Regions from separate parts of the Homo sapiens genome. Here all the other regions are linked to region 1. Evidence: promoter capture Hi-C in 16 types of primary human blood cells and fetal thymus (Javierre and others, 2016). All regions are on one chromosome and are shown on one strand. Each heading gives the region's core, a stretch centred on a gene start or on the middle of the fragment in contact. The rest is flanking DNA. Distances are from core to core; before and after follow the strand shown. Region 1 holds the start of DHX15 (DEAH-box helicase 15). Region 2 holds the start of RBPJ (recombination signal binding protein for immunoglobulin kappa J region). Region 3 overlaps SEL1L3 (SEL1L family member 3). Region 4 overlaps LOC105374524 (a long non-coding RNA gene).

Evidence for each region. Contacts are between HindIII fragments. The CHiCAGO score rates a contact against its expected background, and 5 or more counts as called.
Region 2: a fragment that was not itself captured here is called in contact with the fragment with the promoter of DHX15 in region 1 in 3 of 17 cell types (fetal thymus, non-activated CD4 T cells and activated CD4 T cells); the score reaches 12.8 in fetal thymus.
Region 3: a contact is called between a fragment that was not itself captured here and the fragment with the promoter of DHX15 in region 1, in 2 of 17 cell types (naive B cells and activated CD4 T cells). The highest score is 5.6, in naive B cells.
Region 4: a contact is called between a fragment that was not itself captured here and the fragment with the promoter of DHX15 in region 1, in 1 of 17 cell types (naive CD4 T cells). The highest score is 7.9, in naive CD4 T cells.

Annotation. Positions count from the first base shown.
Region 1 is chr4:24,582,733-24,586,251 of GRCh38, reverse strand. DHX15 (DEAH-box helicase 15) reads left to right here and starts at 1,698. Exons shown (of 14, transcript NM_001358.3): 1 at 1,698-1,929. The coding sequence starts at 1,859. RefSeq lists an enhancer at 1,260-1,799 and silencers at 1,980-2,099, 2,110-2,189, 2,390-2,439. The HindIII fragment of the contact is 7,218 bases long and covers 1-3,519 here.
Region 2 is chr4:26,318,604-26,322,122 of GRCh38, reverse strand. It overlaps RBPJ (recombination signal binding protein for immunoglobulin kappa J region), which reads right to left and starts at 1,109. Exons shown (of 11, transcript NM_015874.6): 1 at 1,075-1,109. The coding sequence starts at 1,094. RefSeq lists enhancers at 1-653, 1,886-1,935, 3,026-3,075 and silencers at 766-865, 936-1,065, 2,536-2,805. The HindIII fragment of the contact is 2,569 bases long and covers 1-2,534 here.
Region 3 is chr4:25,854,568-25,858,086 of GRCh38, reverse strand. The region is part of intron 1 of SEL1L3 (SEL1L family member 3); the gene reads left to right. Among named protein-coding and RNA genes, the nearest start is that of SEL1L3, 6.7 kb to the left of the region's middle. The HindIII fragment of the contact is 2,534 bases long and covers 676-3,209 here.
Region 4 is chr4:23,330,941-23,334,459 of GRCh38, reverse strand. It overlaps LOC105374524 (a long non-coding RNA gene), which reads right to left. Exons shown (of 19, transcript XR_007058437.1): 14 at 3,505-3,519; 15 at 1,968-2,131; 16 at 934-1,034. All of the region lies in intron 2 of LOC105374523 (a long non-coding RNA gene), which reads left to right. Among named protein-coding and RNA genes, the nearest start is that of PPARGC1A-AS1, 440 kb to the left of the region's middle. RefSeq lists enhancers at 1-154, 215-264. The HindIII fragment of the contact is 1,845 bases long and covers 591-2,435 here.

The DNA.
Region 1 (3,519 bases), core at 449-2,948:
TGAAAAATATACTCATTTTTCTTTGTGTTGACTTTCCAATGTGGATTTGGTACAAAAAAATAAAAACCCTCCTTACCAATTGCTGGCTGGGTGCAGTGGCTCACGCCTGTAATCCCAGCACTTTGGGAGGCCGAGGTGGGCAGATCACTTGAGGTCCGGAGTTCAAGACCAGCCTGGCCAGCATGGCGACACCTCGTCTCTACGTCTCTACTAAAAATACCAAAATTAGCCGGGCGCGTAGCCGGGCGTGGTGGCGGGCGCTTATAATCCCAGCTAGGAGGGAGGCTGAGGCAGGAGAATGGCTTAAACCCGGGAGGCGGAGGTTGCAGTGAGCTGAGATTGCACCACTGTCCTCCAGCCTGGGCGACAGAGCAAGACTGTCTCAAAACAAACACACAAACCCCTCATCAGTTGCAATATTTAAGTTGCATTTAATCCTAGCAATTGCAGTCCTGAGATTTGGATAAGAACCAGAGTATGGTCTTCCAGGGCAGCCAAACCAAGCCATTCCATGAACAACAGAGATCACCCTGCTGCAGATGGTCCACAGATCTTTTCTTGTGCATTTCTTCTGGGAACAAATGCAACTGAGGAAGCAGACATATTCTAGGGGGAGAGATCCACAAAAATCCTTAGAGTCATCTTGCCCCACCTCCTTGTTATGGCTTTAGGTACAGCCCTTATGGCTAGGAGATGTAACCTTCCTCAGCCTTTGCGTCTACGTCTACAAAATAACAACTACCTTGCAGGGTGTTATTTAACACTGCGAAAGTGCATTAATAGGCACAGAAAAACAAAAAACAAAAAAGCAAATTGTGCCCTCACTGCGAATTCTCTGTATTCTAGTTAAAAACATCTATAGCTTGGGTGCATGGTGTCCGTGCTGGGCAAGAAAAGGGCAAAATAGATCATGACAAGCCTTAACATTTTCTCACTTCAGTTTCCTCACTGCAATTGATTTTTTTTTTTCTTTCAAGTCGGAGTCTTGTTCTGTCGTCCAGGCTGGAGTGCACTGGTGTGATCTCGTCTCACCGCAACCTCCGCCTCCCAGGTTCAAGCGATTCTCCTGCCTCAGCCTACCGAGTAGCTGGGATTACAGGCGTACGCCACCACGCCCAGCTAATTTTTGTATTTTTAGTAGAGACGGGGTTTCACCGTGTTGGCCAGGCTGGTCTCGAACTCCTGACCTCGTGATCCACCCGCCTCGGTCTCCCAAAGCGTTGGGATTACAGGCGTGAACCATCGCGCGGCCCCTCACTGCAACTGAGGGTAGCGCAGTGGCCGCAAGTTCCAGATCTGGAGTTACTAAATAGCTGGGTTCCAATCCCGGCTCTGCCACTTATTAGCTGTACGATCTTCATTCGTTTCTCAACCTCTCTGGGTCTGAGATTCCCTTAAAGCCGGGGTAATAGAAATGAATAGGATTTCCTAACTAGGACTAGACTTTCTCAATTTCTTGACTCAGAGGGGCAAGGATAGCCTGAAATGGAAAGTGAAGGCCTTCAGGTTCTTCCTAACAGCCGCTCCGAGGAGGGGAAAGCTACAGGAAGAGGGAGGAGACCCAAGAAAGGTCGGACCAATGAGGCAGCGGGCGGGACAGGAGTTCCCGCCTTTGGGCGTCGTGCGCGCGCACCTCGCTCACACGCACACTCGCACGCACGCACGCTGCGGAAGCGCGCGCGCGCGCAGGCCCAGCCCTCGTCGCCGCCGCCATTTTAGCTGTTGGTTCCGGCCGCACCGTGTGGGCTGTAGTAGCGGGAGGGGTGGGGGTCCTCCAGAGTTAAGTGGCTGTCCTCGACTGTGCCCATACAGCAGCCAGCTTTCTTCCTTAATAACTGCCCGTTCGAAGAGTGCGAGGATGTCCAAGCGGCACCGGTTGGACCTAGGGGAGGATTACCCCTCTGGCAAGAAGCGTGCGGGGACCGATGGGTAAGCCAGGCCGGGGGCGCGAGGCGGCAGCTCGGGCTTTGTTGGGGTCCTGGCAGGGAGCGGGCCGGGGCTGGCCTGGCCGAGCGGGTCCTGGAGCCCGAGCCTTTGTTTCTCTCTGGGCTGGGTTCACTAGCGGCGGGTAGGAGAAGCGCGGCGCCCGTTCGGCCCGGCAAGGGCGCGGGGGGTTGCGTGCGACGGGGCCGCTGCCCAGCCCAGTCCGGAGGGTGGAGAGGCCTGCAGTAGCCATGAGGGCGCCTCCTCCCCCAGGCCGAACCGAGCGGGAGTCATTTGCGAGGGCGTCGGGCGGGAGTGAACCGCGGACCTCGTGGCCTCGGTTCCCGAGGAAGGCCTGGAGCCGGAGGAGAGGGTGGGGGAGGGCGCGGTGGGAGTATTCGCTTCCAAGGGCAGCAGGCACTTCCCAGCCAGAGGGGCCGTGGGGAGGGCCTGGGTGGGGGCGCGGCCAGGCACTCCAGACGGGAAAGGCGGAGGGCGGAAAGTGAGAGCAGCGCGTGGATCATAATGTAGGCTGGGATGGGGGTGGCGGGAGTTGAGAGAAGCCAGCAAATAGGGAGTTCTCGGGGGAGGTGGGAGTAGAGGACCTGCCGGGAGAAAGGAAAACGTGGAGTAATATACCTGATGGGCTGGAAGGCTGGTGTTTTGGGGCGACTGAGTTTATAGTTTGGCGGGAGAGAGCGTGCCTTGGTCCATTCAAACACTTCAAAGTAGATACTAGCAAACTTCCGCTCTCTGCCTACGCTCCCGCCATCTCCTGTATTTCCTGCTTTGGTTAAAACTGGTTACTGAACATCGTCCCATGGGGAGGGATTAGAAGGCATTGTTTTTTTTTTTCATCATTTATTTTCTATGCATGTCCCACTTTTCTTCATAAGTAGCTTTTGAAATACAGGGATCATGTTCAAAACGTGTTTTTAGTATTTATGGCGAAACACCGCCCATGTGGAGGTTGAGAGTTGAAATACTTACACAAACTCTTGGTGTTCCAGATTCCTTTCCTTAAAGGTACAGAGGAATTTAGCAGTTAATTTAAGCAATTTCGTGAAAATCATTTCTTGTCCCTTGTGTGTTTTCATTGATGAAGTACAAAGACCTGTTTGGATAATTCAGGCAAAACCCACAAAAGCCCGAGTAGCCAAATACTTTGCATAATTGTATCATTTTATTGTGTACTTGTGATACAGAATCACTGTGTCAAGTCACCTGTATAGCTGTTTTGAATTTTTCAGCTAAAGTTCTTCATTGAAATTGATTTCCAGGGATATGTTTAGTGTCATTGTAGAGTATAAGCCAGGATAGGGTGTACTTTTTGAGGCTTTGCCATATGTTGAATTATTCAATAGAAAGCAAAAGCATGTCACATTTTAATTTTGTGAGTTATTTAGTTTACGATATTAGGCATTGTAAAAAAGACAATGACATTGTAAGACAGACTCTCTTTAGGCTATCACCCTCCCCCACCATTACGCCCCACAAAACGTTAATACCTCTGAGCTGTATGTCACAGACTCAGAGCTGGAAGCAACTTAAAAAAGACTATACGCGGCTCCAATCAAGGAATGAGAAGTGGAGAAC
Region 2 (3,519 bases), core at 1-2,500, 1.7 Mb before region 1:
AACCAGGAGGGGGGCGGGGGCCGGGGGGCGCAAGAACCACCAAGAGACCAGATCTTTTTCCAAGGCTACTGTTTCCAAGCAAAACAACCCACGGCACTAAAAAGACGGCGATGAAAATTGGAGACGCTTTAATCCCGAGAGAAAGGGGTGGCGATAGGGGGGCGGGAGGGTACAAGAAATCCCGAGAAAAAGAGGTGCGGAGGAGAAAACTAAGTATCCCATGCATCTTTCAGACCCACAAAACAACAAACCGTAGAGTCTTGTGTGCACTTAGAAGCAGCAGATGGAGTCCCCGGGGCTGAGACAGTTCAGCAGACGTACACCGTGGGTTGTGGATAAATCAACCGATGACGGGAGAGGAAGGGGGTGCCGAGAGAATAAGCCCGTGGATGGGGGAGACAAAGCCTCGGGGGGTGATCCAGGACCATACAGAAAGGTGAGAGGGGACCCACAGGAGAAAGACAATGGAAGAACAATTAAGGCAGAAATCTGGTGCCCGGGCTGTGGCAGGTCACTGGGCTAACGACAAGAGTGTGGCACAACAAAGGGGCACGGGAGGAAGGACAGCGGAGGGGAGGAGATGGAGAGGGGATGCGGGACGCCACGGGTCGGACAAAGCGCCCAAGGCGGCGAAACAAAGGGCCGGGGGTAGAGAGTCGCAGCGGGTAGCGGTGAAAGACAAAGCGCCCGGGGCCGGGGGCACTAGCGGGGCGAAGCGGCGACAACGGCCGCGAGGAACAAAGATGCACGGGGCCCCCAGGCAGAGCCCGCTGGAGGCGCGCGGGAGGCACGGCGCCCGAGGGCCCCGCGCGCCCTGCCGCACTCACGCCCGCACCCGCCGGCCTCGCCGCCGCCGCCGCCGCCCGCCCTCACGCGCTGGAGCCTGAGCCACGGCAGCGCAGAGCGGCAGCGCACGGCCACACGCCGCCGCCGCCGCGCTCGGCGCACGCGACGCCGCCCCCGCGGGCCCCCGAACGCCAAGCGCGCCGCGGCCCCCGAACCCGCTGCCCGCCGTGAGCTGCCAGACGCCCGCAACTTTCCCGGTTCCCGGCGCTCCGATTCCCTCAGACTTACCCTGTCACAACAGGCGCCATCTTCCACAAACTCTCGCCAAAACTCCAACCCTCGCGAGATTCCCCCCGACGCCTTCCCTGGTCCCTCTCCCCCGCCCCTTCCCTTTTTCCTCACTCCTCGATTCCACCCAGCCCCCGCGCTCCCTTTCCCCTCGCCGCCGCCGCGAAGAGCCAGACGCCTCGCGCCGCCCGCAGAGTAGGGGATCCTGCTCGCTGCCTTCCCTGGAAACCTACCCAGGCGATGGAGCATGCGCAGGCGGCTCCTCCGCGGGCGAGCCCTCCGTGTGGTCCATGGGGAGCGCTCCGGTTATCCGGGTTTTAGGACGCGCTTTGAGGGACGTACGTGGAGACTGAGGAAAACCGGAGGGGATTACTACGGGGACGAGGAATGGAGGGGTCAGGAGGCGGGGCCGAGGAGAAGGGAGGAGGGGTCCTGGGAAAATGGGCTGCGTTTCACAGGCCTAGATGAAACACCTCCTCAATGGGTGTTTTCCAAGCGGCTTCCCGCTCACTCTGGGTTCCCAGCTATTTTCATTCATTCAAACGTTCCCTGGGCGCCTCCTTTATGCTAATCTCGGCGTTTGGTGCAGGAGCGCCAGAGATGTCTGGGGTTCGGGCAAGTGACACGTCGGGGACTGTCTTCATTCATTACACCCCCCCATGCTAATGAGGAGGCCCTTCCAGAGCTCCTCAAGCGGAAAACTTTTGCAGTTGAGCTCTCTCGCCTTAGCGTTCTCCTTGGGTGTGAAATGAGGTCAAGCCAAGGCCTCTAGCAAAGACACCCCTAATGGCCACCTCGCAGACACACGCCAGAGCGCGGAGTAGTTCTCTCCAGAAGGGAAAACTGCCTTGGAATTGAGAGCCACATTCTCCCACCTCCGAGTCTGCCCAGAGGACCCGATCAAAGCTCTTGCCGCTCGCGTGCTGCATGGCCTCTCTAAGACCCCATCGCAGCCACCACCGTGTGTGAGCCCAGGTGTGTGTTGAGACCACTACTGCACAGGGAACCGGGCCACCCGAGGGCCTGGCACAGCCGAGGACGCTGCCGGCTGCCCGAATCGCGCTTCAGGCGGCCTGATCCCGGAAGCCCCCGGGCAAACCTGGCCCCACCGGGCATGGAACAGCAGGGTGAAGGGCCCGAATCCCGCCCCCTCCTCCTACCTGCAGCCCCCCATCTTTCCCCTCCTTTGCTCTTTCCTTTCCTAGAGATTCCCAGATCCAGCACTGCCTCCCGCAGGGAGCCCCAAAACCCGGAGAACTGGAATTCGCCGCCCGAAACCTGTTGAAGGCGCTGCAGGATTGGCGCGGCCCGCGCGAGCGGCACTGCGCATGTACCCAATGCGGGCAGTCCAGTCTCACGCTACACCTCCTTCCCACCGCCTTCCACTACTCGGCTCAGACACAACACGGCCGTGGGAAATTTCCTAAACCTCGCGAGAACGTGCCCCTGTTGCCTAAGCTTTCGCCCCAAATCTCGCGGAGCCAAGGCAGGACAGGTGTTTGCCTAGACCAGCTCCGGGCGCCGTTCGTGCAGCGCGTGCCCGGGAGGCGGGCGGCGGGCGGCGGGCGCGGGCGGGGTGGGAAGGGAGCGGCTTGCCGCGGAGGCGGGGCGGGAAGGCGCGTGGCTGGGAGCACGGGGCGGAGGGCGGCGGGGGAGGAGACCCGCGTCTCGCACACAACACGCACACGCCCTGTGACGCTGGATGGAAGACGAGGGGTGGGGAGCCTCGAACGGAGGAAGGGGAAGCCAGGAGGTTGGAAGTCGCTGCCGGTACGGAGAGTGAGAGGTCAGGCTCTAGGGCAGGAGGAGCCCCAGGCCGATCTCCCGGGGAGGTTTCCTGTCGCCCTCCACAAGCCTGGTACTTTCCTAAAACGTGTTAGACACCGCGCCCCCCGCCTCCGGGAGCTGACAGACAGCCTCCAGAGTCGGGTTTGAGTCATGCCTTGAGTCACCTAGTCTGGCCACTACTTCGCTTACTTTGAAACAAGTTCTGATTCCTTAGCTACTCTACTTTAGCAATTGGTTTCTTTTTTTTTTTTTTTTTTTTTTTTTGAGACGGAGTCTTGCTCTGTCGCCTAGGCTAGAGTGCAGTGGCGCGATCTCGGCTCACTGCAAGCTCCGCCTCCTGGATTCACGCCATTCTCCTGCCGCAGCCTCCTGAGTAGCTGGAACTACAGGCGCCCGCCACCACGCCCGGCTAATTTTTTCTATTTTTTAGTAGACGGAGTTTTACCATGTTAGTCAGGATGGTCTCGATCTCCTGACCTCGTGATCCGCCCGCCTCGGCCTCCCAAAGTGCTGGGATTACACGTGTGAGCCACCGCGCCTGGCAGCAATTGGTTGTTTTCTTTCTAATCTACCCGCTGGCCCTGTGAGCTGGGTAGAAAAATAAATAAATAAATAAATAAACAGCTCTGCGCTCTCGCCTTGTTGCCTTGTATAGAT
Region 3 (3,519 bases), core at 693-3,192, 1.3 Mb before region 1:
CCTGTTTAATGGCTCATGCCATTCCCCTGAGAAAGGAGCCGAGGGGCAGGAGGCGTGTTCGGCCCATGAGGAATGGCTGATGGGATTCTGCCTTGGCAGGCCTTGTTTCCAGTCTCTACCTGGAGAAGGGCTTAGTTATACTGGGGAGCTGGCTGAGTCTGGTGTTTGTGTGTTTGTGGTTAAGGCAATATCTGTCTCCTCCAAACTCAAGGCATGCCGGCATAATGGCATTTTAGCCCCAACCCTTTCAAGATGGGAATAAGGAAAGTCATGAGATTCCCCAACCCTGTAGCCAGAAAGCGGTGACAGGTGTATAAAGGCAAGGACGTGAGTTGAGGGCATCATCTTTGGGTGTTGTTAGAAGACAAGAGGCACACCTTCCCTGGCTTTGGAGTCAGCCAATGTGGATTTGAATTTTGGTTCTGCTTTTTGGTAGCTGGTTGACCTTGGGCAAGTTACTTACCCTCTCTGAAGGCATTCCATTGCCTCAGCTGTAACAGTGGGATGCTGTCTCCCTCTGTGGGTTGTTGTGAGGATTGGGTTAGAAGTGAGAAGTTCTATGAGGTCCCATGTGAGAGGTGGAGGTTAGAAGTCAGAGAGAGAAAAAGGTTTAACACACCCATCCCAGTGCTCAGTACACAGTAGGTACTCAATGAAATAAGAGCAAACCAAGCTTAGGTAGCTTTGTGTGATGTAAGTTGGGAAGAAACAGCATATTAAATAGTATGGGGGAGAATCTTACACAACCAGGAATATTGATCATGACTGTGATGGTGTGGCTCTGGCCAGCTCTCAGGTTTAGGAGGGAATAATACTCAACTGGGAAGTTCTTCCCTAAGCACATGCTGATTTTGAAGTCTGTATTGACATCATCATCCATTTTGCTTAATTGCATGCTTTGTTGACCTAAACAGAATTTTTGCTTATATCTAGTAGACAGAAATTACAAAAATAGGCCCTTTAAGGCAAGACACTTACCTTTTTGATCTAGGGAAAATGTGATCCAGCCAGTTTGAAGAGAAAGCCCTCATGAGCCACAGTTTTCTTAGAAGAATGGGGCAGAAAGGTCAGGAATGAGAAAAACAGTTATTGTTTTCTTGTCATACCCACCCACAGACATGTGTACATGCCAATGAACTTCCCGTAGCAAGATGTGGATGATTTAAAGTTTCCCAATCTCTCTGTTCCTTCCTTAAATACCAAGTGGAGACCAGATAGAGAACAAAGCCAAGTTTTCTCAGCTCTTTGAGCAAGGGAGGGTTATTTGAATAGCATCTCTTCTTATTGATTTTCTTAAAGGAATCAAATGCAGTTATCCTAAAAGAAGTTTAGGTCATATTGATAGTTTTATTTTTCCATCCAGAATATACATAAATTCATCTGTTTCTTGATTCCCAGGCTGAGTTCAATGCATTTAGATCTCCTATTTGGGGTCTTCTATCATGAACACACATTAACTGGCCCATTTCTTTGTTTTTTTTTTTTTTTTTTTTAATTACAATACATGCACATTTACACAAAAGCAAGAGAATCTGTGTTTTGTGACTGTGCATGACGTTGTCAAATTTGACTTTGATGAGGGCTCACATCTGGTATAAACATATTTGAGGGCTCAAGCATTTTTCAGGGCCCAGCTCTGTTGCGTGCAAAATGGATCAGTATGTTGCTTTCAAGGTGGAACATCTATTGTAGCTGCCTAAACCACATAATTTGAGGGGCACAGATGCCCCTCTTCACCCCAAATATCTTGCTTAGAGTTGCGGTGCATTTAGACTGTGCTTTTAAGGCATTATCTCCACAAAGCTGGTGTAGAAATACAGATACGTGACCTTACCTCAGTATTTTTTCATTATCACAGTAACATGGATGAACTTGCCAGATGAACAGGAATTCAGCAGAGGGTCGAGGGATGAGAAATCTTAAAAATTTAATTTGTATTTTTGGTGTGGAGAAATGGAAACGGTCTAGAATGTAGGGCAGTTGTCTGAAAAGGTCTAGAGGGACCAAATAGCTGGGAGAAGTTTGCCCCAAATGGTTAAGGTGGGTGCCAAGGTGCCACCTTCTCTGACCTCACAGTTCCCCAGCTCAGCTCTGATCCCCAGGGACCAATGAGGTGCCAAAGGGTAAGGGCTCTTTGGAAGGAATTAACGAGGCTGGGAGAAAAATAGAGAAATGATGGGGGCCCCTTACAAGAGAACTTACGAGTATAAGAAGAAGGCAGTGGGGACTCAAAACTGATCAAGTCATTTGGTTTATATGCAAGTGCCCTCAGGGCCACTGAGGCACCTGGCAGAAATGCCCATGCCCAGTGCTTTTTTTTTTTCCTGAGACGGAATCTCGCTCTGTTGTCCAGGCTGGAGTGCAGTGGCACAATCTCGGCTCACTGCAACCTCCACCTCCCAGTTTCAAGTGATTCTCCTGCTTTAGCCTCCCAGGTAGCTGGGATTACCGGTGCCCGCCACCACACCTGGCTAACTTTTTTTTTGTATTTTTAGCAGAGACAAGGTTTCACCTTGTTGACCAGGCTGGTCTCAAACTCCTGACCTCAGGTGATCCACCCGCCTCGGCCTCCCAAAGTGCTGGGATTACAGGCATGAGCCACCGTGCCCAGCCCCAGTGCTTTATTTCAGCAAGAAACACTTACTAAATTCTTACTGTGTGTCAGACTCTATCTTAGAAGCTGGAAACATAACAATGACATGGACTCTGAACTCATAATTTCTAAACAAAGGAACATGCAGATAAATTTTTAGCTTGTGTTAATGCAACCTGGCATGTGAAAATACCTATGAAGGCTGGACACGTGTCATGCCTGTAGCTGGAACTCTTCAAGTTAATTGCCTTATTTTCCTGGCAGGAAACAGCTTATAACCACACACATGACTTGAGCCAGGAAGTCAGCTTCAGCTTAATCAATATTTAGAGTGTGATGTGTTGCTAATCAGTGTTGGTTTTGTGCATAGGAAAGGTAGCCACGACTCGTGGTGAATCAGCTGCCCACAGGTCTGCTACAAGCCACCGGATGCCAGCTTCCTTCATTGCATGGGTGCCTCAAAGCACCTTCTTGAAGGGTTTAGACCATGTTCTGCACAGGCCATGCAGGGTGATTTTGAGGCCCTCTTTGGGGCCAACACACCCTCATTAACTTAAGGAAACATTGCCCCACCCCGAAGTTTCTCTTCTCTTGTACTCCAGCTGTCATTCAAGCTTCTCCTACTTGTCAAACAATCCATCTCAGTCCTTAAAATTTGATCTCTTTGCCTAGCTTAACTTCATGTTATCCTCTGACTTAGATCTTTTCTGAAAGAAACAATAGCAAAATGTCAACACTCTCCACCAGGGAACCTTTTAGAAAAATACAGAATCAAGCCCCATCAACTACACACATATGAAATGATGCCCAGTTGAGCTATTCACCCCGTTTCTCCTATATGAGAACTCCTAACAAAGCATATCTTCTGTCACCTTTTGTTCTTCAAAACTCTATCTGGGATAATAGCTTGATAATTGGCCAGGCGC
Region 4 (3,519 bases), core at 264-2,763, 1.3 Mb after region 1:
CAGGAGCCCTTAGAAAGGAGATGGGGAGGAGGGTGAGGTCATGTGACAAGATTTCTACTCTGTGTCAGCCCTTTTCTTTGGCATTTAGATGAGTTGAATGACAGGTAAAGCTTAGGGCTTAGGCTGCCAGGAACAAAAAAAAAGTGGGTAAATTTAATCATTTGCTCTAGTCTTTAAATATCCTGTACAGCTTTCAGGCACAAAGCAATCTTCCTACAGAGAAACAAACCCAGGATGTGGTTACAACGTACTGTTCTACCTCTTTGTGTTAAAGTGCCTTAATGATCAGGAAAAAAAAAAAAGATTTGCATGAAGGCTTTTTATGGAAAGCACTTAACACAATGGTTACGCAAGACAAACGTCAGCACAAGTGGATATAACTGATATGATGAGTCATCCTATGTGGTTTAAAGCCACCACAAGTGAATGTCTTTTAATTCAGCCTACATAAGCCCAGAACATCTTTTATAGGACTTTGAGGGTATCTATGGCATTGACAAGATACAATTAGCTCCTTGACTGAATCGTAAGATTGAAGGACAGTCTGATTTAAAAATGATTAAGGTGAGTGGCATATGGATGCCAAAGCTTCTTCTGAAATCAGCCTTGGTGATTTGTTTTTCTCTCCAGGTATAATGTCATAACACACACACAGACACACACACACACATACATACACTCAAACGCATAGTGACATCACCTTAAGATCTGAGTAATGTAGGCAGGATAGAAATATAATTGGCCACAATATTGTCTCATGTAAGCACATTAGTGATGCTTACTTAATCTTTTGGCATCCAGTCATTCTCTGGAGTAAGAAGTAAGGCTTTCTGTTTTAATTTCGTGACTCGAATTTGGAAACAATCTTTGCTCTTCGAAGAAAGGTACAATATAAGATTTTATTATTATACTGATTACATATTTGATAATTACCTGGTCTTATTGTCACTAGTATGGCTGTCATTACACATTGATTATAGCATTTCTTTCTGTTGACATCAAACAGGACCTCAGAATTCTTCTCAGCAAAGTGCCTGAAGAAAACACGGTAAATCAACTGGAATGACCATGTGAAATAAAGTCTACCTACTTCTCATTCACAGCACATATCAGACAACCTAATAATCAAGGTTATGATTTTCAGATATCCACTTTATCCAAATGAACATTTGGTAACATTAGGTTCTGCAACAGCAATTAATACAGGGACTCATTTAAAATTGCTGCTACCTTGTCTTTCTGATATTTTAATGGGTTGTCTTCAGTTCATACATTCTTTTTATTTCCCATTTCTTATAGAGCCCAGTTATAAGGCCCATTGTAGTATAATCAATAAAAAACTGTTGACTGATCAATTAATAATGTGATGATTTGTCTAAAAGCTGCATTGGTAGAAAGGAAATAATTTTGTACTAAGAGTGAAAACATTTGAGTTCTATTCTTTATATCTGCAAGTAACCATGGTTGGAAAACGTGTTTCAACTTCTCTAAAACTCAGTTTCCTCATTTCTTAAAATAGGGCAATAAACTGGATATTTTCTAAGGCTTCTCCCATTAGAAAATACAGTAATTATTCTGAGATATGTGCATGAATAGGTATCTCATTTATTTTAAAGTAAATAAGGTACCATAAATATCTATTTTCAAAGATAAAACTCTTCTTTATCTTTCCATTTCCATTCTCCCCATCTCCAACACTTATTTTCTCAATTTACTTGGAGCGTACAATATTTAGGTAGGGTGTGGCTCTGAGAAATAGTAAAAACATCCCCTCCCACACACATCCCGTAAAACACACACATATGCACTCACATTAGTGAGAGGACCAATGAAGGAATTCCCTTGAGTTACTGATTTCTGCAAATTTGACTCAGTTTTATTCACTACCAAAAGGAGCTATTGGAAACCTTGTAATCTCACTGAACTCGCATTCAAGGAAAATCTCTCTATTTCTCAATAGTTCTTACCATTTTTGCATATGCTATTCACTTTGAAAAAACTTTCTCCAGGAAAATTCCTATGACTTCTAGACTGAGCCAAAATGCCAGCTCCTCATTGATGCATATGTAATTCTCCTTGTCAGTGTCAGGTTCTCTGTCTGCAGTGATTTCTTAGCACTTTAATTGTGCCTCTGTGGAAGAAGTTATATATTGTAATTTAAAAATATCTGTTCATGTTTGTTTCTCCCAACTACTTAAAAGCAGTCACATTTTAGGTACATCTAGTTTATCTTAAGGAGCTGTATTAGACTGGCTCCTTTAAAATTCTGGAGTCCACTTAATATCCCATTTCAAGGTAAGCCCCAGAATGCTTTTCAGCAGCATTCTTGACCTCTCTATTACTATGAAAGCTAGACTCTGACACTTTCGCATGTCAAGTCCAGAACTCCCTAGAGAATCTCCCTAAAAGTTTTTAGCCTTTTTCAAAATGAAGCTTACCGGAGAAGAGAGTGAACAAGAAGGCTTTAGGTCTTGTGATATTAATTATTTTTAAAGAAGAATAGATTATCATATTTTAAAACTAAAATCATCATTTTTCTTCATGTTACTTCTTTGATTATCTGCATACATTACTAGAGAACCAGTGGTCTAAATTCTTAGAACCTTGTTCCTGGTCTTTCAGCCCTCACAAAAAAAGGTGACTTACACAAGCACCTGACTGGCATCTGACAATTCCCAAAGGAATTACTTCCAAAGTAAAGCATCTTGCATTAATTTTCTCATCTCTAAATTTACCTCAGACATCTATCCTCATATCAATATGAGTCTGTATGTCTGTGTGTACAGGTTTCATATTTAATAGCACATATGATCACAGATTTAAAGCATCAATTAGCAACTCGCATATAATGGCAAATGCATTTGCCAAATGGATGGAAAATGCTTTTTTTTTCATCTCTTCTTCCTCTAATATCTCTTACTAGACAAATCATCATTACTGGCGAGCTCTGACAACAGACCTTTCTAAGTCCGATTCTGTCATTTGCTTGGTAGACACGTTGACTGCAGCAAACCGTCCCCTATCATCAACTTTTCCAGATGTTTGCACAGCGGGTTTGGTGTTTTTAAACTATCTAAGTTACGGTCCCAAATGACAAATGTTCATTTTCAAAATTAAAGCTTATTACGAATTACCTGCCAAGTACAATGTGTCAGGAGAGACTGAATGAATTAGAAATTTTGCCCATTGAGAATGAATGAATAAGAAAAAACATAAATGAGGCAAGCTATTACACATGCTGGAGGAGCACAGAAAGAATTTTAAATAACAGTAATTTACTAAAAGCTGTTGCATTAATACTTATGCCTTACCTTAAAGAGGCCCATCCTTACCTTTTGATGTAAGTAAGGCTTCAACTTTTTTAAGTGAAAATAATAATGTCTAGGAAAGACAAGGATAATCTCTAAGATGAGACTGTATTTCTCTTTTTAATCATCATCCACAGAGGTTCAGGTTTGCTGTACTGGGAAGAACATGGCCTGATATAGCCATCAAAAGACTAACGTTTTTTTGCTCTTA